Linked DNA regions of Homo sapiens: regions 1, 2, 3, 5, 6 and 7 are each linked to region 4. Evidence: promoter capture Hi-C in 16 types of primary human blood cells and fetal thymus (Javierre and others, 2016). All regions are on one chromosome and are shown on one strand. The core of a region is centred on a gene start or on the middle of the fragment in contact, and the rest is flanking DNA. Distances in the headings are between cores, read along the strand shown. Region 1 has its middle 100 kb from the start of MIR11400. Region 2 holds the start of CLCN1 (chloride voltage-gated channel 1). Region 3 overlaps TMEM139-AS1 (TMEM139 antisense RNA 1). Region 4 holds the start of EPHB6 (EPH receptor B6). Region 5 overlaps CASP2 (caspase 2). Region 6 overlaps CLCN1 (chloride voltage-gated channel 1). Region 7 has its middle 87 kb from the start of MIR11400.

What was found. Contacts are between HindIII fragments. The CHiCAGO score rates a contact against its expected background, and 5 or more counts as called.
Region 1: a fragment that was not itself captured here is called in contact with the fragment with the promoter of EPHB6 in region 4 in 1 of 17 cell types (fetal thymus); the score reaches 5.2 in fetal thymus.
Region 2: the fragment with the promoter of CLCN1 here is called in contact with the fragment with the promoter of EPHB6 in region 4 in 6 of 17 cell types (neutrophils, M0 macrophages, M1 macrophages and 3 more); the score reaches 9.6 in neutrophils.
Region 3: a fragment that was not itself captured here is called in contact with the fragment with the promoter of EPHB6 in region 4 in 1 of 17 cell types (erythroblasts); the score reaches 6.9 in erythroblasts.
Region 5: a fragment that was not itself captured here is called in contact with the fragment with the promoter of EPHB6 in region 4 in 3 of 17 cell types (erythroblasts, naive B cells and total B cells); the score reaches 7.5 in erythroblasts.
Region 6: a fragment that was not itself captured here is called in contact with the fragment with the promoter of EPHB6 in region 4 in 2 of 17 cell types (neutrophils and non-activated CD4 T cells); the score reaches 6.4 in neutrophils.
Region 7: a contact is called between a fragment that was not itself captured here and the fragment with the promoter of EPHB6 in region 4, in 1 of 17 cell types (naive CD4 T cells). The highest score is 5.1, in naive CD4 T cells.

Annotation. Positions count from the first base shown.
Region 1 is chr7:142,368,426-142,371,125 of GRCh38, forward strand. It overlaps TRB. Among named protein-coding and RNA genes, the nearest start is that of MIR11400, 100 kb to the right of the region's middle. The HindIII fragment of the contact is 1,764 bases long and covers 532-2,295 here.
Region 2 is chr7:143,314,730-143,317,483 of GRCh38, forward strand. CLCN1 (chloride voltage-gated channel 1) reads left to right here and starts at 1,382. Exons shown (of 23, transcript NM_000083.3): 1 at 1,382-1,663. The coding sequence starts at 1,484. The HindIII fragment of the contact is 3,265 bases long and covers 1-2,198 here.
Region 3 is chr7:143,258,498-143,261,197 of GRCh38, forward strand. The region is part of intron 2 of TMEM139-AS1 (TMEM139 antisense RNA 1); the gene reads right to left. The region is part of intron 2 of LOC105375546 (a long non-coding RNA gene); the gene reads left to right. Among named protein-coding and RNA genes, the nearest start is that of GSTK1, 3.6 kb to the right of the region's middle. The HindIII fragment of the contact is 1,703 bases long and covers 561-2,263 here.
Region 4 is chr7:142,853,672-142,856,371 of GRCh38, forward strand. EPHB6 (EPH receptor B6) reads left to right here and starts at 1,405. Exons shown (of 20, transcript NM_004445.6): 1 at 1,405-1,714. The HindIII fragment of the contact is 5,828 bases long and covers 1-2,700 here.
Region 5 is chr7:143,293,003-143,295,702 of GRCh38, forward strand. It overlaps CASP2 (caspase 2), which reads left to right. Exons shown (of 11, transcript NM_032982.4): 5 at 1,228-1,322; 6 at 1,595-1,771. Among named protein-coding and RNA genes, the nearest start is that of CASP2, 6.0 kb to the left of the region's middle. The HindIII fragment of the contact is 634 bases long and covers 1,091-1,724 here.
Region 6 is chr7:143,343,691-143,346,481 of GRCh38, forward strand. CLCN1 (chloride voltage-gated channel 1) reads left to right here. Exons shown (of 23, transcript NM_000083.3): 17 at 1,831-2,072; 18 at 2,450-2,561. Among named protein-coding and RNA genes, the nearest start is that of FAM131B-AS1, 17 kb to the right of the region's middle. RefSeq lists silencers at 1,726-2,020, 1,827-1,906. The HindIII fragment of the contact is 4,049 bases long and covers 1-2,791 here.
Region 7 is chr7:142,386,590-142,389,289 of GRCh38, forward strand. It overlaps TRB, the pseudogene TRBV8-2 and the pseudogene TRBV5-3. Among named protein-coding and RNA genes, the nearest start is that of MIR11400, 87 kb to the right of the region's middle. The HindIII fragment of the contact is 1,987 bases long and covers 415-2,401 here.

The DNA.
Region 1 (2,700 bases), core at 164-2,663, 490 kb before region 4:
ACACTTTGCTGCTTATAAATTTCTTCCACCAGATACACTAGGTCATCACTCGCAAGTTCAAACTTCCACAGATTCCTAGGGCAGAGGCAAAATGCACCCAAGTTCTTTGCTAAGGCATAACATGTGTGACCTTTGCCCCAGTTCCCAATAAGTTTCTCATTTCCATCTAAGACCTCAACAGCCTGGACTTCACTTTCCATATCACTATCAGCATTTTGGTCACAACCATTTAACCAGTCTCTCAGAAATTCCAAACTTTCCATCATATTCCTGTCTTCTTCTGAGCCCTCTAAACTCTTCCAACTTTTGCCCATTACCCAGTTCCAAAGCTGCTTACACATTTTCAGTTATTTTTATAACAATACCCAACTTCTTGTATCAATTTTCTGAATTAGGCCATTCTTGCATTGCTGTAAAGAAATACCTGAGACTAGGTCATTTACAAGAAAAATGGTTTAATAGGCTCATGGTTTTTCAGGCCGTACAGAAGGCATAACACCAGCATCTGCTTCTGGTGTAGTCTCAAAAGCTTACAATCATGGAAGAAAGAAAAGGGGAGGCAGGCACATTACATGGTGAAAACAGGAACAAGAGAGAGAAAGAGAGTGTGTGGGGGAGGGAGGGAAGGTCATTTAAAACATACTTTTAAATGACCAGATCTCACAATAATTCATTCTCTATTCTGAGGACAGCATCAAGCCATAAGGGATCTGCCCCCGTGATACAAACACCCCTCACCAGCATGGGGATTACAATTCAACATGAGATTTGGGTGGGGACAAATATCCAAACTATATCCAAAGGAGTCTCACCTGGAGCTGTGGGCTGTGCTGCCTGAGGTTGGGGATGGGGTGGCATAAGCAATTTCTTGGCCACCCCAGCTGGTATCTCACTAGGTCATGTGTCCCCAAGTCCACTGACTCTGAGTTCAGCACAGCACCAAGACTTGCCCAGGAATTGTAGTCCTTGTGGCCTGGACTGTGTTTCAAGTTTATTTAGGACCCTAAGGCACTTTAGCCCATGGTAGCGAGGCTAGCCAGAACTCAGGTTCTGACTGCTGGGATAAGTGATTCCCCTCTGACTAGGGCTGGTCTAAATGTTCTTCCATGAGTGCTGGCTGAGTCCTGCCTGCTGTTGCTATCCACTGTGTGAGGACAGCAACGACTTCCAACACAAAGTCCCACAGTCACTGCACTCTCCCTAACCCAAATGCACAGACTGTCTCTCCAAGCCATATGGCCACTGCCAGGGGATGGGGGAGGCATGGTATTGGCAATTCAAGAGTGTCTTTTCTACCTCTTTAGTGCCTCTTTCAGTGATATGAAGTTAAAACCAGGTACTGTGGTCACTTAGTTGATTTTTGGTTCTTATGAAGGTGCTATTTTGTGTGGATAGTTGTTCAGTTTGATGTTCTTGTTTGGAGGAACAGTTAACGAAGGCTTCTATTTGGCCATCATGTTCTACCTTCTTCTTAATCATTCTATTGGGTCTGTAGTGATATCTCTATGCATTTTTCTATAAGTAATTATATTTACATTTTTTTCTGTTTTCATTAGTAATTTCTATCTCCTTTTTTCAAGTGTCTGCTTTTAAATTTGCCTGTTTTAAAATCTTACGTTGTTTGTTCTTATATTACTAATACGTATAATATGTTTGTATTTTTTATATAAACCTTTTGACCATTAAATATATTGAGTTAGTCTTCTCCCAGAGTGGCCTGCCTTTGTACTTTCTGAATAGAGTCTTCTCATGAACTGAAATTTTCTATTTTTTGAAGTTTAATTCATATATATTTTTCCTTTTACAGTGACTACTCTTTGCATTTCAAGGATATCTTGCCTATAACAGAATTATGAGTTGTTCCATTCTGTTACTTACTCTACTCCTCCTCATTAGTAGCCCCATCCCTTTTTCTTTGTCATCACTTGAAAATGCTAAATCTCCAAAATCACAAATTAAATATTCCACTATCTGCCTACAGCTTCTTATCCTATCATACCTGTTCTTTGATATTATTGACATCTCCTCTCCACTGGTAAATATTCTTTCTATTTCCTAGGGTCCCTACAGAATTTCTTTACTCATTCTAGAGCAGATATGAGGATGTTACGTGTTAAAAATCCTAGCTTGCAAATAGTTATTATTTTATATTGATACTCTTAGGCTTCCCTTTCATTTACAAAAATAAACAAGAATAAATGCACTGATCTCTTTGGCATGGCAGAAGCTGAATGCTGTCAGAGTAAGTCACACCGGCACAAACTGTTATCATGATAAATACATAGTCACTAAGCTTACCTGCCTTTATATCCCTGCTTTGAGATTATAGTATGGTCCTTTTACTAGCTCAGTCTTTCACCCTCCTCAAATATTGTTTCAAATATTTAAGACTTTTTTCCAGTCCCTAATTCTTCTCTTCTTGCCTCTTAAGCCAAAGGCACATCTTGTTAGGACATGCTGGACCTTGCATCTCTGCAATTAACACAGTTTTTCTACTGTGTGAAGGTGTCACCTTGAGTGAAGATGGTTCTTGTGGACGGGAACCCAGTGTGGGGCTCAACTCTAAAGGGATGTGGCAATGGGTCTGAAAATGGGTTCTCAATGAAGCATCACAGTGTCCACTATGTTTATGAAGTAGATCCACCCTGCCACAGACTTCTAGGTAAGAGGAGGTGAGCATGCATCATGATTCTCTACTAG
Region 2 (2,754 bases), core at 132-2,631, 460 kb after region 4:
CACATTGCTGGGATTATAAGCATGAACCATAATATCCATAGCCATAATAATGGCTATCTCTTGCTTTTTTGATAATAGCCATCCTAACAGGTATGAGGCGATATTGCATTATGATTTTGGTTTCCTGATGATTAATGATGTTGAGGCCCTAGAAAAAGTACTTTTAATGATATTGGCTTCCCTCCTGCTTTGGGTGGTTCCATTTAGCCTAGGTCAAAATCACATTGTAGACCAGATGTTTGGTGTCCCTACCCTGCAGTCCCTGAACTTGGACTGTCCTGGGACAGACCCCACTTGGTAATGCATCCTAAACTTTACTTTGGCTCAGTTCATATCTTTTCTCCTACAGTGAAGAGTTCATAGGGAAGACATGTCATAGGAAAATTGGTTTTATAACGTGATGCCAGGAAGAAAAGTTTGTCCTTGGCCAAAAAAGTATTTATTGACCTGAAAAGGGAAGAATAGCAGAGAGCACTTCCCCATCATCTTTCATGTTTGTCGGGCTTGTCATGAGAAGCCCTCACCCCTTTCCCACCTCTCCCTTCCCTGTGCCTCTTTCTACTTTCGATTCTCCCCTGTTATCTCCCTTGTTATCTATCTGATGGAGCCAGTGTGGGCACTCCACAGTCCAAATGGAAGCTCAGTCCCTCCGGGTTGGCAGTGTGGCTGACACCTAACAGTCTGGGAAGTGGGAGAAATTCTAGAACCCAAGGCTATTACCGACCCTCGACTTCCCACTTCCCATAAGTGTTCCACACCCAGTGAGTGATAAGGATGGGATCAGGGGATGCCCCCAAGCTGTTATTAGCAGCCTCTGGCAGACAGAAGGGCAAAGAGCTAGAGAAGAACGCTGGACATGGGATGGGCTGGCAGAGCTGGCCAGACAGAACCCTGGGTGGACACAGAGTTGGGAACAAGCTGGCCAGGAGATGTGGCAGAGAGGCACCAGTTACTTTCCCAGGTGAGTTAATGTGCCAGTGTTTCCAGAACTTCGAGTCGCTTCATCTTTATCCAGCACCCACCCCTCACCTTCCGCATCCTGAAGAAGAGAGATGGGCAACTGGAGGGCTTCCATGCAGATCCGGCTCTACACATAGGTTTGAGAGCATACTCAGCAGTTTCTCATCCTGGTCCAGGCGATATTTATAGAGGGACCAGTGACATGGAGCTGGAAGCCTACTACTGGTGACTAAGAAGGGGGACAATGCCACTGGCTCAGCAGAGGGAATTCCCTGTGGGGCTGTCCCTCAGGTTCTCATCCCAACCCCCACCCCCACACTGCACTCACACCTGCTTCGACCCCAAGCAGATCAGATGTGGCAGTGGGGGGTCATGTGACGGAGAGGGGTCTATAAATAGCTGGAGGTGGGCATGCTGCCCCAGACGCCTTGGGGACAGCAAGAGCAGAGGCTTAAGGAGCTACACTGGGGGAAGGACAGGGGCAAGCAGGCCAAGGCCTGGCCGGGGCTCGGGGGGAGGGAATATGGAGCAATCCCGGTCACAGCAGCGTGGGGGTGAACAAAGCTGGTGGGGTAGTGACCCCCAGTACCAGTATATGCCCTTTGAACACTGCACCAGCTACGGACTGCCCTCTGAGAATGGGGGCCTCCAGCACAGGCTCCGGAAGGATGCAGGCCCCCGCCACAACGTCCACCCCACACAGGTAAAGTGCTCTAAGGGGAGAGGGGAGCCATGGATGAGGGGAGACAGTGGTGCCAGAGACTGGTGAAAATGAGGAATTGGGTGAAAAGAGGGAGCAGTGTTACATTTTTTTAACTTAAAAAACAAGTACGTGGTGATGTGTTCAAAATATGAAAATCTTTGAAAGTCTGGGCTCACTTAAGTATGCACTTAGAGAGATATGCATGCACTTTCATACAACCTTTACCAACAGAGTACCCAAATCATATGGGGAAACAGCAGAGCCTCACATGCATGAATAGCTCGTGCTTACATAACCTACGTGGAGTGGATTGCGTAGGAGCCCACACTGCAGTGTGCTGGGAGCTGTCTCCCACACCCTCACCCACAGGTAGACACTGCCAGATTTCTGCCTCTGGGACCCTCTGCAGAATACACACAAACATGAATCTTTCTGCAGAAGGCAGAAGAAAGGAATTGGGCAAGTGTAGAAAACAGACTGAATTGCTTATCAGTGATCAAAGATCTACCAACGTCAAAATGAGCAGAGATGTACAAGCTTTTAGGTCGCAAGATGATCAAGTAAGAACCTATTAAGTGTTAGGCACCTGGAAAAGGGCAGAGATGTGATCCCAGCAACAGAAGCATGCAGGCTAATTAGGAGTGTCTATGGATGAGCAGCCTCCCGCTGTGGGATTGGTGGGATATGAACACCTAGGAAAGGGGGAATGGGGATGGGCACAACTAAAGGAAAGGTTGTGAAATTGTCATGGAAAAAGATAGGTCATGGTTAATAAGTAAGTGTGCCTCTCCCTCCAAAGAATGCAGAGAATAACAGAGGATAGAATTTGTCTAGAGGGCAGTTGGCCAGAACTTTTTTTTTTTTTTTTTTTTTTGAGATGGAGTCTCGCTCTGTCTCCCAGGCTGGAGTGCAGTGGTGCTATCTTGGCTCACTGCGACCTCCGCCTCCCGGGTTCAAGCAATTCTCTTTCCTCAGCCTCCTGAGTAGCTGGGATTACAAGCACCTGCCACCATACCTGGCAAATTTTTGTACTTTCAGTAGAGACGGGGTTTTGCCATGTTGGCCAGGCTGTCTCGAACTCCTGACCTCAG
Region 3 (2,700 bases), core at 162-2,661, 400 kb after region 4:
CAGACTGGGTGACAGAGCGAGACTCCTCACAAAAAAACAAAAACAAACAAACAAACAAAAACAAAAAAAAAAACCTCTCAGTTGTCCCAATATCATTTATTGAATAGTCAATTTTTTATTTATTTGAAAAGGCAACTTAAAGCATTTCCAGTATCAATTATTTAATTCCAAATGACATGATTAAAGCGCTATTTACTGAGCTTTCAAATGTAGATAATACCATTGGCTCATCTACGAAAGATGAGAATTTGGATCGCATACACCACCTCTCCTCTGCCTCCTCCAATGTTTGATAATTATATCATGTTTTGTTCCTCTACTTAGTGCTTTTCCCACTTCAAATAACTTACTTATACCACTATTTCTTGTTTCAATAGCTCTAATCAGTATCTAGAGTAAAATTAAGTAAGCAGGAGGCTATTGACCTGAGACAGTCTCCATGCTTTGAATTCCTATGAAACAAAATGCAACCTAACTTAGTATGTAAACAAACTGAAACTTAACTTAGGAGTTTCATTTTTATAACAGATAACCAGGTCTTTGCCAATCACAAGCAGCCAAGCTTCAGCTAAGTGCAAGCAGCCAACGGACTGGCTCATGTCTAAATCAAGCAAAACACTTAGCTGCAACAAATCAAACTATTTATGTACTTTACCTTCCTGTTCTGCTTATAAATACTCATTGCTTACAGTTGCAGAGCTCTCGGAACCTCTTCTGGTTCTGAGTACTGCCTGATTCAAGAATCATTCTTTACTCAAATAAACTCCATTAAATTTAAATTGTCTGAGGTTTTTCTTTTAACACTAAATACCCCTCTCAGCAATAGGAAGATGATAGCCCATAGAAGTGAATATATTTTTCTTTTTGTTGTCTCTACTCCATTTTATCCACAACAGGGCCCAACCTAAAAATAATAATAATAACAACAGTAATAGTATGTGGAGATAGACTGTAAGGACTCAGATCAATGTTTTATTATTCTGTGATTCTTAAAGTAAATATACATGAGTCCATACTGATATAAATAACTGACTGAATAAATAAATAAATAGAAAGAAGGGACAACTCTCCTGTCAAAAGAATTCCAATTAATAAATGAAAAAAACTAAGGAAATAGAGAATCACCATTAGAACACCACAGTAACAACTGCTGCAGGCAAGATCCACTGATGAATAATAAAACTGATGGGTGACAGTTTAGGGAGCAACTGGATATTTGCATAGCCTCAAAGTATCTCCCCCAAATATTTATTAGTTACCATGGTAGTGTTAACGTATATCCACAACTTCTTTAATATTCTTCCCTCCAGTGGATGGACTTAATCTACTCAACCCTCACTCCCAGGATGGGCTGCACTTACTGACTCCCTTCCAAAAACTAGGGTTTGGATAGGGAAAAATGGTGACTTTACAGTGCAGAAATTTTCCAGTTGCTCCGCCTTAACCAGGTGACCAAGGTAAACACCACCAGTGATGAGTCATGTTGATATCCCTGTACCTCATGACATGATTCAAGAAGGGCACCTTACCTCTGTGGTAATCTTCCCAAAAGTCCACAACCTTAGTCTTACTCTGAGGAAATATCAGACAAACCCAAATGAAGGGACATGCCACAAAATAGCTGATCAATACTCTTCACAAGTGTCAAAGTCATGAAACACTAGAAAAGGCCAAGAAACTCTCATAGATATGGGAAGAATAAAGAGACATGACAACAAAATTCTGTATGTATGCTGGACTGGATCCTGGAACAGAAAAAGAACACTAATGAAAAAACTGGTGAAATCTGAGCAAAACCTGCAGTTCAGTTAATAGTAACGTACCAGGCTGGGCACAGTGGCTCATGCCAGCACTTTGGGAGGCTGAGGCAGGGGGATCACGAGATCAGGAGTTGGAAACCAGCCTGTCCAATATGGTGAAACCCCGTCTCTACTAAAAAATACAAAAAATTAGCTGAGCGTGGTGGCACACGCCTGTAGTCCCAGCTACTTGGGAGACTGAGGCAGAAGAATCGCTTGAACCTGGGAGCCGGAGGTCGCAGTGAGCCAAGATTGCGCCACTGCACTCCGGCCTGGGTAACAGAGTGAGACTCCAGCTCAAAAAAAAAAAAAAAAGTAATGTACCAATGTTAATGTATTGGTTTTTATCATTATCATACTTATGTAAGATTTTCACATTAGGTAAAGCTGGATGAGGGGTATTCAGAAACCTTGTACTATCTTTACAAGTCTTCTATAAATCTAAAACATTTCCAAATATAAAAAGCTTTTTAAAATAAGTGATTGATCTACCTTTGAAATGAAACCTTAAATTACCACGCTGAATTAGCTCTTGGACACTTTAAAATTATGATTACTGGAGAAAAACAAAAATGTAGCTGGGCATGGTGGCTCATGCCTGTAATCCCAGCAGTTTGGGAGGCCGAGGTGGGAGGATCACTTGAGCCCAGGAATTCAAGACCAGACTGGGAAGCATGGTGAAACCCCACCTCGACAAAAAACAAAAATTAGCTGGGTGTGGTGACATACACCTGTAGTCCCTGCTACTCAGGAGGCCAAGGTGGGAGAATTGCTTGAGCTTGGGGGGCAGAGGTTGCAGTGAGCCAAAATTGAACCACTGCACTTCAGTCTGAGCGAGAGTGAGATCATGTCTCAAAAAAAACAAGGTGGGCTGTGGTGGCTCACATTTGTAATCCCAGCA
Region 4 (2,700 bases), core at 155-2,654:
GACGTCCAAATGCAGTCATTAAATACTATCAGACTTATTTATTGACTCCTGATATTAAGAGTGAACAAACCCCTGGCCAAGTGGGAACTTGCTCGGTAGCCTTTATCTTTCTATCACTCATTCAGTCAATTCATTAAAGCCTGTTTGTCTCTCCCAGGTGACTCTTACTGAGTTTCATTGTTTTGTTTATTGTGTTTGTTGGCTCATAGATCTCTTTCACAATTTTCTTCGGCTTCTGAATGCTCTTTAAGTACCAGTTTTGATCAGCCCATTTGCTTTAATAAACAGGAGAGCAAGATGGGACAGGGCGATACAGGGAGAAAAGGGGGCAAAGGGAATCGCACCGGGTGCTTGTGCTCCCTAGAAAAACCAGCAGGTGGTAGCAACACTTCGTGGCAAGGCCCCAGCCCAGCTCTGTAGGACCCAAACAATAGACCCCAAATCCCCGTCCTCGGCTAGAGAAGGGGTTAGAGGTGGGCGGAAACACTTTTCCTCGCGGCGCCCCCTCGGTTCCTCAACCCTGCCTCCAGGCGCCAGCTGAGAGCACCTTGCACCGCCCCTCCTCACTGCAGGGAGGTTCTCTCCGGAGCGCGGGCGAGGGAGGAGGCACCCAGAGGTGCAGCGACTTGCCCAAGCCATGTCAGAGCCAGGCGTACAGCAGCGCTTCCCCTTTTCAACCCGACTGCCCTGCCCCTTGGGGAGGGTAGATGGAGGGAGGTTCGACTCAGAAGCCCCAACGTTGACCAAGATCCAGACACGAAAAGAGAAAAGAGTTCCCGGCTAGCACGGCGACGCTTTCATACCGAGACGCCCCCCTCTCCCGCTGCCTCGGCTCCCCCTACCACCGCCCGTACTCTCCCAGATTTCTCAGTTTGTCTTTCCCTCCACCCCCTGCTTTTCCTTCCTTCTCTCTTGCTCAGCTCACGCCCACCTTAGTTCCAAGCTGAGTAGGAGCCCCACTGTTTTAGTTCCTAGAGTTAAAGCCGAAGAGGAGGGAGGCGCGAGGGGGTGTGTGCAGGGCTCTGCCCTGCCCTGAACTGCCACGGTCCGCCAGTTGCGCTTCGCTCCGCGGGTGTCCGACCCAAGCCGAGCCCGAGCCCGAGCCCAGGCAGGGGCTTTACAGACAGCCTCTTCCCTTCCCACTTCCTGCAGGCGCCCCACGCGTGCGATCCTCCCGGCCAAGACCCGCGGGAGGAGGCCGCCCCCTTCCCGGCGCACAGGCGGGGCCCCGGGCGCGCCCCGCGTCTCCCCCGCGCGCCGGGGCGGAGGAGCGGGCGCCGCGCACTCACCGCCTAGGCCGGGAGGGCGGGCTCGGCTCCCCGGAAGAAGGGAGTGGGAAGGCGGCCAAAGGGGCTGAAGGGGCGGGCCGGGCCGGCTTGGGAGGGGACGCGGAGGGGGCGGGCCGGGCTGCGTTCGCTCCAGCCGCGGCTCTACAGCAGCGGGCGGCGGGACCCGGGACCCAGCTTGGCGACGGCGATCTCGACGCGGGCCCCCAGGATCTCCCGGCGCCCCACCTCTGGAGCAGCCCCTGCCGCCAGCGTCAGGTCCACCCCGGAATCCCAGGGACTCTCGGCGCCGAACGGACCCGGGCCGGGTGCAACGGGGTCCCCGGACTGGAGAAGACGCGGGTGGCACCGTGCGAGCTCCAGGAGCCCCGGGTCCACTGCGAGGCCTCGGGGGGCGCAGACCTGCAGAGACTGCGGCCAACGGGAAGGTGAGCCCGCGGGGTTAGCAGGCGGCGTTGTGGGGGTCGGGGACAGTATGCTTGGGGACAGAGGAATTAAGGTTTGCAAGAGTAGTGGGGCTCCTCAGCCCCTAGGTGGCTTCCTGAGGGAGTACTGAGGATCCTTCCTCAAGGCCAGAGTGGGGTTCATGAAGGGTGAGGAAACGGTCAACCTGGCTACTCCCCTCTCACTCCACTCTGACCTGGCATCATTGACACCGCATTACCCTTGCTGTTAGGATCCCCCAGTTGCGTTCCCAGACATTCTCCTCTGGCTCTGGCTTGGGAGTCCTAATCTGGGAGGGTCCTCGCAGAGACGGAGCTCCACGCTTGGAACAGGATTGCCACCCCTCTGACTCCAGTGGCATCACTCCAATCCCCTTGGAGCTGGGAGGAGTCAGGAGGCTGACCACACACCTGTCCCCTGCTCCCCACAAGGCACTGTCCCCCCCAGCTCCATGACCACAGTTAAGCCTTGGAGGTGGAAGGAACGCTTGGTTCCTGCTGCCCAGCCATCACCCCCAACGTGCAACCAAATTCTATTGCGTGCTCCTGCCCCAGCTCCACCCTCGCTCTGCTCCCTCCATCTGGGTGCTTGGCCCTGCTTGCCCCACACCCCCACCCACCGATCTTGGCCGTCTGGCACCCTCTCTCCTCCCATCCCTGGGGGAGCTGGCATGGACCCAGCATAGCAATGTTGTAATGTCCCTGGCAGCGCCCATGGAGCGGAGCTGCTGGGTCTGTTCCCAGTTAACCCAGGCCCTCCGCCCGCCAGGGGAACTTGACTGAGGCTCTAGGAGGGGAGATGCTGGTCCTGAGCTGAGAGACCAGTGGGAGGGAGCTGTGTGGGGCTGTTAGTAGACCACAGAAGCTGCCCAAGTAAGGGGCATTGGAGCATTGAGGCTTCTGAGTGCTGCTCAGTGGGGCCACTTGGCTTTTCAGAGCAGTGGGCCTTTTTTCTCAAAGGAAGATTAGCG
Region 5 (2,700 bases), core at 158-2,657, 440 kb after region 4:
TCAGTCTCAAAAAATAAAATAAAATAAAATAAAAAGGAGGGGGGTGTCCCAGATTGACTTCCCCTTTCTTGTCTGGTATCTGGCTTTGTCCTAACATGAGCCCTTTTTTTTGTTTTTTTTTTTTTTTGTTGTGTTTTTTTTCAGAAATAGGGTCTTGTTCTGTCACCCAGGCTGGAATGCAGTGACACCACCATAGCTCACTGCAGCGTTGAACTCCTGGGTTGAAGGGCTCCTCCTGCCTCAGCCTCCCAAGTACCTGGGATTACAGGTGCATGCCACCACACCTAGCTCATTTTTAAATTTTTTGTAGAGAAGGAGTCTCACTTTGTTACCCAGGCTGGTGTCAAACTTCTGGCCTCAAATGATCCTTCCGCCTTGGCCTCCCAAAGTGCTGGGATTATAGGCGTAAGCCACCATGCCCAGCTGAGACATAGTTTATATTGGGAACAGTTGTCAGTAAATTTGTTAAGGGCTAGTAGGACAGTTTATGCAGGAGTTTGTGGTTTTTTGTTTTTTTTTTTTCTTGTGATGGAGTCTTGCTCTGTCGTCCAGGCTGTAGTGCAATGGTGCAGTCTCGGCTCACTGCAAACTCTGCCTCCTGGGTTCAAGTGATTCTCCTGCCTCAGCCTCCTGAGTAGCTAGGATTACAGGTGCGTGCCACCATACCCAGCTAATTTTTTGTGTTTTTAGTAAGAGATGGGGTTTCACCATCTCCTGACCTCGTGATCTGCCTGCCTCGGCCTCCCAAAGTGTTGGGATTACAGGCATGAGTCACTGCGCCCGGCCCAGGCAAGGTGTTATTAATAGTTGGTCCATTTCCCTTCCACCCCAGATAACAGTTTTTGTGATAATTGGGCCTTTGAGTAGCATGTATGGGCAGGAAGTTCATGCTCAATTGGCCTCTAAAAAGCTGAATAAGAAAAGACTACATTTGGGGCCACCAGCCTGCTGATGGAGCATCCTAGTGATTGGAACGAGGCTTTTATCAGCTAGCCCATTCGGTCATTCAGCCAGTTGAGCATATGCTTCATGCAGGCTATGTGCAGAGAATCCTTTAGTGAGCTAAAACTAAGAGTCTCTGCCCTCATGAAGCTTACAGGTTTGGGTAGTGAGTGAGACCAATATTTATCACAACCCAGTTGCAAGAGATGTCTGAAGTTACAATGACATATTAAGATTGATGGTTAAGTTATATACTAGTTTTTTGGTTTTCTGTCTATACCACAGATACTGTGGAACACTCCCTAGACAATAAAGATGGTCCTGTCTGCCTTCAGGTGAAGCCTTGCACTCCTGAATTTTATCAAACACACTTCCAGCTGGTGAGTTTTTGCATAATGACAAGAGGAAGAGAGTTGGGAAATTAGACACCCTTCCTGGGAACCTGAACTTAGTTTGCATGTACATTTCCTTTCTGCCTTATTAGTCAGAAAGTTGTTACTGGTTAAATGCCTTCTGTGAGCATTTGTCTATTTTTACCTGCTGGAGGTTAAGAAGAAAAATACGATGTCTTTGTTTTCTTGAAATGTCTAATCTAGCCGAGGAATCATCTGTTATCAAGACGCTCATGGTCTAACTGGCCTCTCCTCCACAGGCATATAGGTTGCAGTCTCGGCCTCGTGGCCTAGCACTGGTGTTGAGCAATGTGCACTTCACTGGAGAGAAAGAACTGGAATTTCGCTCTGGAGGGGATGTGGACCACAGTACTCTAGTCACCCTCTTCAAGCTTTTGGGCTATGACGTCCATGTTCTATGTGACCAGACTGCACAGGTACCTGAGGTGGGAAAAATTGACATGTAAATTAGAGGACTGAACAACACTTTGGGACCAGAGACATCGTTTGTTCCTGTGCCTGCTGGGATATGTCTTAAAAGTTGGTTTATTCTACTTACATTTTTACTCACTCTGTTCTGCCTCTCACCTTGCATTCTAGTAAGAAAGAATTAGGGCCGGCCAGCCATTTTAGTGTTGACATCTCAGGTTGTGGTTTCATAAAGTAATAATAGTCCACAGTTGGTGTCTCACTTTTTTTTTTTTTTTTAAAGACAGAGTTTAGCTCTGTCACCCAGGCTGGAGTGCAATGGCACGATCTCGGCTCACTGCAACCTCTGCCTACCAGGTTCAAGCGATTCTCCTGCCTCAGCTTCCTGAGTAGCTGGAACTGCAGGCGCATGCAACCATACCTGGCTTATTGTTGTATTTTTAGTAGAGACGGGGTTTTGCCATGTTGGCCAGGCTGGTCTCAAACTCCTGACCTCAGGTGATCCGTCCCCCTCGGCCTCCCAAAGTGCTGGGATTATAGGCATGAGCTACGGCACCTGGCTGGGAAAGTATTCTTAACATTTGTGTAATCACAAGTCATAGGGTAGATTGTTTGTGGACCAGATTTCTAGAAATTGTAAACATTTTCATTATGGGCTGTTCGTCATTAACCTCAGTTACTGTACTGCACAACTGACTTTGTGACCTTTAGGGTTTCTATTTTGCAATCAATAATGGCCTATTTGTAGATTCATATTCACTCTTTATTTTGATTCCAGAATAGTAGAACTTTCTTCAACTTGCTTTGAGGTTGTCAGTGGTGAAATTAAAATTGCTAGGAGATTCACTTTGATCTGTTGGGATAGAGGATCTTTGTTTTCCATTCAGCATTGTCTGTAGTCTTCATTTCTCTTTCTTAGCTGCCCTCCTTCTGTGAG
Region 6 (2,791 bases), core at 292-2,791, 490 kb after region 4:
TTTCTTTCTTCCTTCCTTTCTTTCTCTTTCTTTCTTTCCTTCTTTTTCTTTCTTTCTCTTTCTCTCTCTCTCCCTCCCTCTTTCCCTCTCTCTCTCTTTCTCTCTCCCTCCCTCTTTCCCTCTCTCTTTCTCTCTCTCTCTTTTCTTTTCTTTTCTCTTCTTTCTTTTCGACAGAGCCTCACTCTGTTGCCCAGGCAGGAGTGCAATGGCGCCATCTTGGCTCACTGCAACCTCTGTCTCCTGGGTTCTAAGTGATTCTCCTGCCTTAGGCTCCTGAGTAGCTGGGATTACAGGAATGCACCACCATGCCCAGCTAATTTTGTATTTTTAGTAGAGACGGGGTTTCACCATGTTGGCCAGGCTGGTCTCGAACTCCTGACCTCAGGCGATCCACCAGCCTTGGCCTCCCAAAGTGCTGGGATTACAGGCATGAGCCACTGTGCCCGGCTGGAACTGTTTCACATGGAGGAGTGAATGGTTGTTAGTAAACGATAATTTCACATTTCTCTGCCTTCACCATCATTTGACACTTCATCCTGCTTTGTATGATTTCTTATTGTGGTTTATATATCTATATCTTGTCTTCCTAACTAGGTGGGCATTCCTTGAGAATAGAGGCTATGAATTCTATATACCCAGAGTGCCTTGTTATAGGTATCTACTAGATATTAAATGAATAATTTCCTAGTGTTTGAATTAGTGTAATAAAGAAAAATCATGTAGGGCCATTTGGAGTCATTAAGATTGTTAGTTCTGATTTCCAATAATCAGAATATCCAAATTTCTCAAATTAAATTAATTCAAATATTTTCCCAAATCTCATATACATTCCACGTTCTACAGCAGAGGCTCTTTATTAGAGGAGGGGTACAGCCAACAAATGAGGGGCAAGGTTTTCATAATAATGACTGAGACCTAACAGTAAAATTCATCTCCAGAGCACTGCTGCAATGTCTTGGCCTTAAAACTTAATAAAAATGTTAACTATAGTAGCAAAATTTCTATAATCATATAAAAGACCTTCTCAGGAAAAGTAGGCATTTTGATTTATCCTAGCAGGGTTTTTTTTTTTTTTTTTTAATGAAATCTCGCTCTTGTCGCCCAGGTTGGAGTGCAGTGGTGCGATCTCAGCTCACTGCAACCTCTGCCTCCCGGGTTCAAGCGATTCTCCTGCCTCAGCCTCCCAAGTAGCTGGGATTACAGGCGCCTGCCACCACGCCCAGCTAATTTTTTTATTTTTGGTAGAGACGGGGTTTCACCATGTTGGCCAAGGCTGGTCTCGAACTCCTGACCTCAGGCGACCCGCCTGCCTCGGCCTTCCAAAGTAGTGGGATTACAGGCGTGAGCCACCGCCTGGCCCAGGTTTTTTAAATGATGAAATGTCAGATACAAAAGAAAGAGTTCCCTTGTTTCCCTTTTTCCAGGGAGAGATATAATGTTTGTATTGCTTATAGACTTCTTTCAAAGCGTGTTCACGTCTCAGCTTATTTGAATGGCTTCTCATGTTTCTTTTTATTTGGACAGCATTGATTAGCCTCCTTAATTATCAGCTCACCTATCTGAAGTCTATATAAGGCCTCATCAAAATAAGTACAAATTAGCCCAATTAGTGCTCTACCAATTGGCCCCGTACCTGCTAAATGGATGAAATAAAAGGGATTGAGTGAGGTTAATCTTGGAGGATTCTTAAAATGAGTTTCCAGGAAGCTGAGAAAGATGTGGGGACGCCGGGCAGGGTGGCGCCTCTCCTGTTCCTTCTCAGGAGTGCGGAGCGCGGTGGTGCGAGAGGGCTTGGAGGGGGCGCTCAGGCAGGGCGTGGGTTTCCCTCAGATTCAATGATCCTGCTGGGCTCGGTGGAGCGGTCGGAACTGCAGGCCCTCCTGCAGCGCCACCTGTGTCCTGAGCGCAGGCTGCGCGCAGCCCAAGAGATGGCGCGGAAGTTGTCGGAGCTGCCTTACGACGGGAAGGCGCGGCTGGCTGGGGAGGGGCTCCCCGGCGCGCCTCCAGGCCGGCCCGAGTCCTTCGCCTTTGTGGATGAGGATGAGGACGAAGACCTCTCTGGCAAGAGCGAGGTGACCGCGCCGGGAAGGGCTAGGGAGTGGGATAGATCAGGAGCAAAGGGAAAAGCGTCGTCTGGGCTGGGCTGGGCTGGGCTGGGACAGGCGTAGTTTCCCTGAAAGTAGTGGGAAGAGGGAGGGGAGAGTCTGGTAACTGAGAAAGCCAGAAATTCTGGATCAGGTACCATAGAGACCAGTGCCTCTGGGTCCAGGGACTAAAGAAGATAAGGTTGCAGATGATGGTATCCTCGACAATTCAAAGGGATATAGGAATTTCTGAACTGGGGGGAAGAATAGAGTTCGCTTTCCCAGAACATCCACCAACTGGTAAAGGCAGTGAAGGCCCAGGCAGTCTCTGCTCCCAGGCTGAGACTTCTTACTCTTCCTTACAGCTTCCTCCTTCCCTTGCTCTCCACCCCTCTACTACTGCCCCTCTGTCCCCAGAAGAGCCCAATGGGCCTCTGCCTGGCCACAAACAGCAGCCGGAAGCACCAGAGCCTGCAGGTGACGCTCTTCCCTCATGCACCCCAACTCACCCCTTGTGGGTTCTCTCTGGTCACTAGGACCTGACCTTGACCTGCATGCAATTCCTATGCGGGGTGGGGTGGGGGGTGAGGCTGGGGGATTGAGGGAGGACAGGGTTCTTATTCATCAATTCTCCTTGTTACTGTCCCAGGGAGTGGGAGCAGAGGGTGATTTAGGAGGGTAGAAGAGAGGGTGAGGTACCTGGGAAG
Region 7 (2,700 bases), core at 158-2,657, 470 kb before region 4:
CAATCCTGGCATCCACCAGCACCAGCCAGACCTATCTGTACCACTGTGGCAGCACATCCGCAGCCCTGCACAGCCAGCTGCCCTCTGCACAAAAAGGGCAGTCACAGGCTGGAGGTGGGCACTCCTTATGGAAGCCCGTGTCTCAACCAGAAGAAAAAGCTGCCCTTTCTGAAGCTCTTCCCAGACTTCCCAGCAATGGGATCTCATTCTATGTGTGCTCCTGCAGCATAAAACTTAGAGTGAGCTGGGTCTGTCACTGTAGTGCGGATGTGTAAATGCAAACAACGTAATGTTATTTTGCTCAATTTGGAATATTCTGGTAATTGTGCAAAGGAATGGTAGCTTCTAACAAGAAATTCATATTTCACTTTCTTTTCAGGAGAGAAGAAAAAAGCAGAAAGCAGCTGGGAAGCTTTAGCCTGCTTGAGTGATCTGGGATTCTCAGGTAGCATACATAACATCACCTTGGCTTTGGTTCCTTTAGATACCAAGCATGTGTTCTGTGGAGGACAAGAAAATCCATTTTTTTTGTTATAAAGTTATAAACACACAAGAGAACAATCCAGTTAGGGAGAATGTTAATAAATACAACAAACTCTGCCATTAGACCTGAAGATAATCAGCTAGTAGAATTATCAAAGAGATTGTAAGACTCTTACTGAGTACCTGTTTGAGGTCCTCTGAGGATAGATGAAGGAAGGAACTTAATTCTTACCATCACTGTGGCTTGGATTAGAATCCATGAGTTCCTTAACTTGTTTTTCTTGTAAAATATTATAAAATAATATAGAACACACATTTTATTTTCCTGTAGCCTGTAGTCCTCTTTAGCACCTAAAGGGAGAAGCGCATATCCCGGTGCAAAAGGGAGCTGGTTGCTTGCTTGGCAAAAAAATGAATTCACCAATTGGCCAATCTGCTGAAAGTCAAAATGAAAGGCTAATATATGAGACTGATGACAGTTCATGGTTCTTGGTATAACTTCAACAGCGAGTGAGCATTTTTTTCTTTGTCTATAGCTTTCTTTCAGCCATCGATCCTCAGTTGTGTCTTAGCCTCTTATCAGTCCAGCTCACTTTGATACTAAATTTGATTGTTGTGTATCTCAGCAAGAAGCACGTCTCACATTCTCTGTATTTTTTGTGGTCATGAGTGTGTTCCTGTCTTATTCTTATTTTATGTGGTGCATTTCTAAATAGGACTGTACAGAATACAAGCATCTATTTGTATATGACTCTCATCTTTTATGGGGAGAGGTCAGAGTAGGTGAGCGTGCACTTTGATTCTCTGCTGGAATCTCTTTGGATTCTATGTCCCCTGTCACATGGTTTATTTTCATATGCATATTTCTCATGGTTCTCCTGACTCTTTTAGCAATGCTCATTGCAGGATATTAGAAATTGTATTACTTCTAATGGCAGAATGTTAGAAATTGTGTTGACTCTTAAGGCAAAATAAAATACCTGGACTCACCTTTCCATTGCTGTGTCTATTAGTCGTGGTCCTGGAGATATCAAGGAGGGACAAAAGGAGTATTTGCAAAGGTGTGGCAGGGTTAAGGGAACCCAGTAAGAGAAGTAGAAGTAGCCTAAGAACAGCAGAATCTGTGGCTCTTATTCACATTGGCCTGAAATAAGTAGGAGAGGATGTGGATCCCAAAGCATCAGGTACTGTAGCTCTAAGGCAAGGCTGCCTATAAGGTGCTGTGGACTTTGGTAGGGAAAAGTAACCTATATAAAATAATGAAGCAAGAGGATAGCCAGGGCATAGATGAATCAGAACAAGTGGTGCCCCTACCTCCCTCTACTCTCCTGCCATTGTCTCCCATTAGCCAAACTCACTCTGGAGTTAGAGAAGAAGAGAGCCAGTTAACATAATACACTGAGGTCAGCCTCTGAAGGCAGGGTGGATCTGGAGAAATTAACGTAAATTATCCAGATCACTACGCATAAGATGGCCTTGAGGGTGCTGAATCCCAAACTGTCTGGCTAGGTCTGTGCTGTGAGCTGATAAAGCCCTAGTATTATTTCTGGGGAATCTGTACTCTTAATAATTTACAGACAACCAAGGTCTGCTTTGGATCTGATCAGATAGACTAAATCTTGGGGACTTTGCACCACTGGCCACTCAAGGGAGGGGCTGGAAATATTTTCTGAGGACAAAAAAATAGAATTAGAAAATTTGGTTGAATCTAGCGTCAGAGAGATGACATTAGGACAGCCAGGGAGAGCTGGAACAAGAAGGTTTAATCACAGGCTCCTCACCCTCTGCTGATGGGCAGGTGTGTGAGCTCCAGCATGGAGCACGACAGCACTAGGTGGGAGGAGGGTGAGAGGGTGATGGGGCAGCCTGGGAGCTGGAGCAGTGTAGGCAGAGGAGCAACTGTCTCATCACAGAAGCTTCTGCCCTCACCCAACCCTTCTGCTGGACAGGGAGGGAGTTCAGGTTGTGGGGAGTACTGGACCTCAGGAAGCATTTATAGGGAGGACACAGGACAGTGACATCACAGGATACCCCACCCATCAGGAAAATCAAGGCCCAGAACTCACTTGGCCCTTCCCCAGGAGGACCAAGCCCTGAATCAGATGCAGTGCTGCCTGCCCCACTGTGCCATGGGCCCTGGGCTCCTCTGCTGGGAACTGCTTTATCTCCTGGGAGCAGATGAGTCCTGTGCACAGAACAGCAGCCCCATTCTCAGAT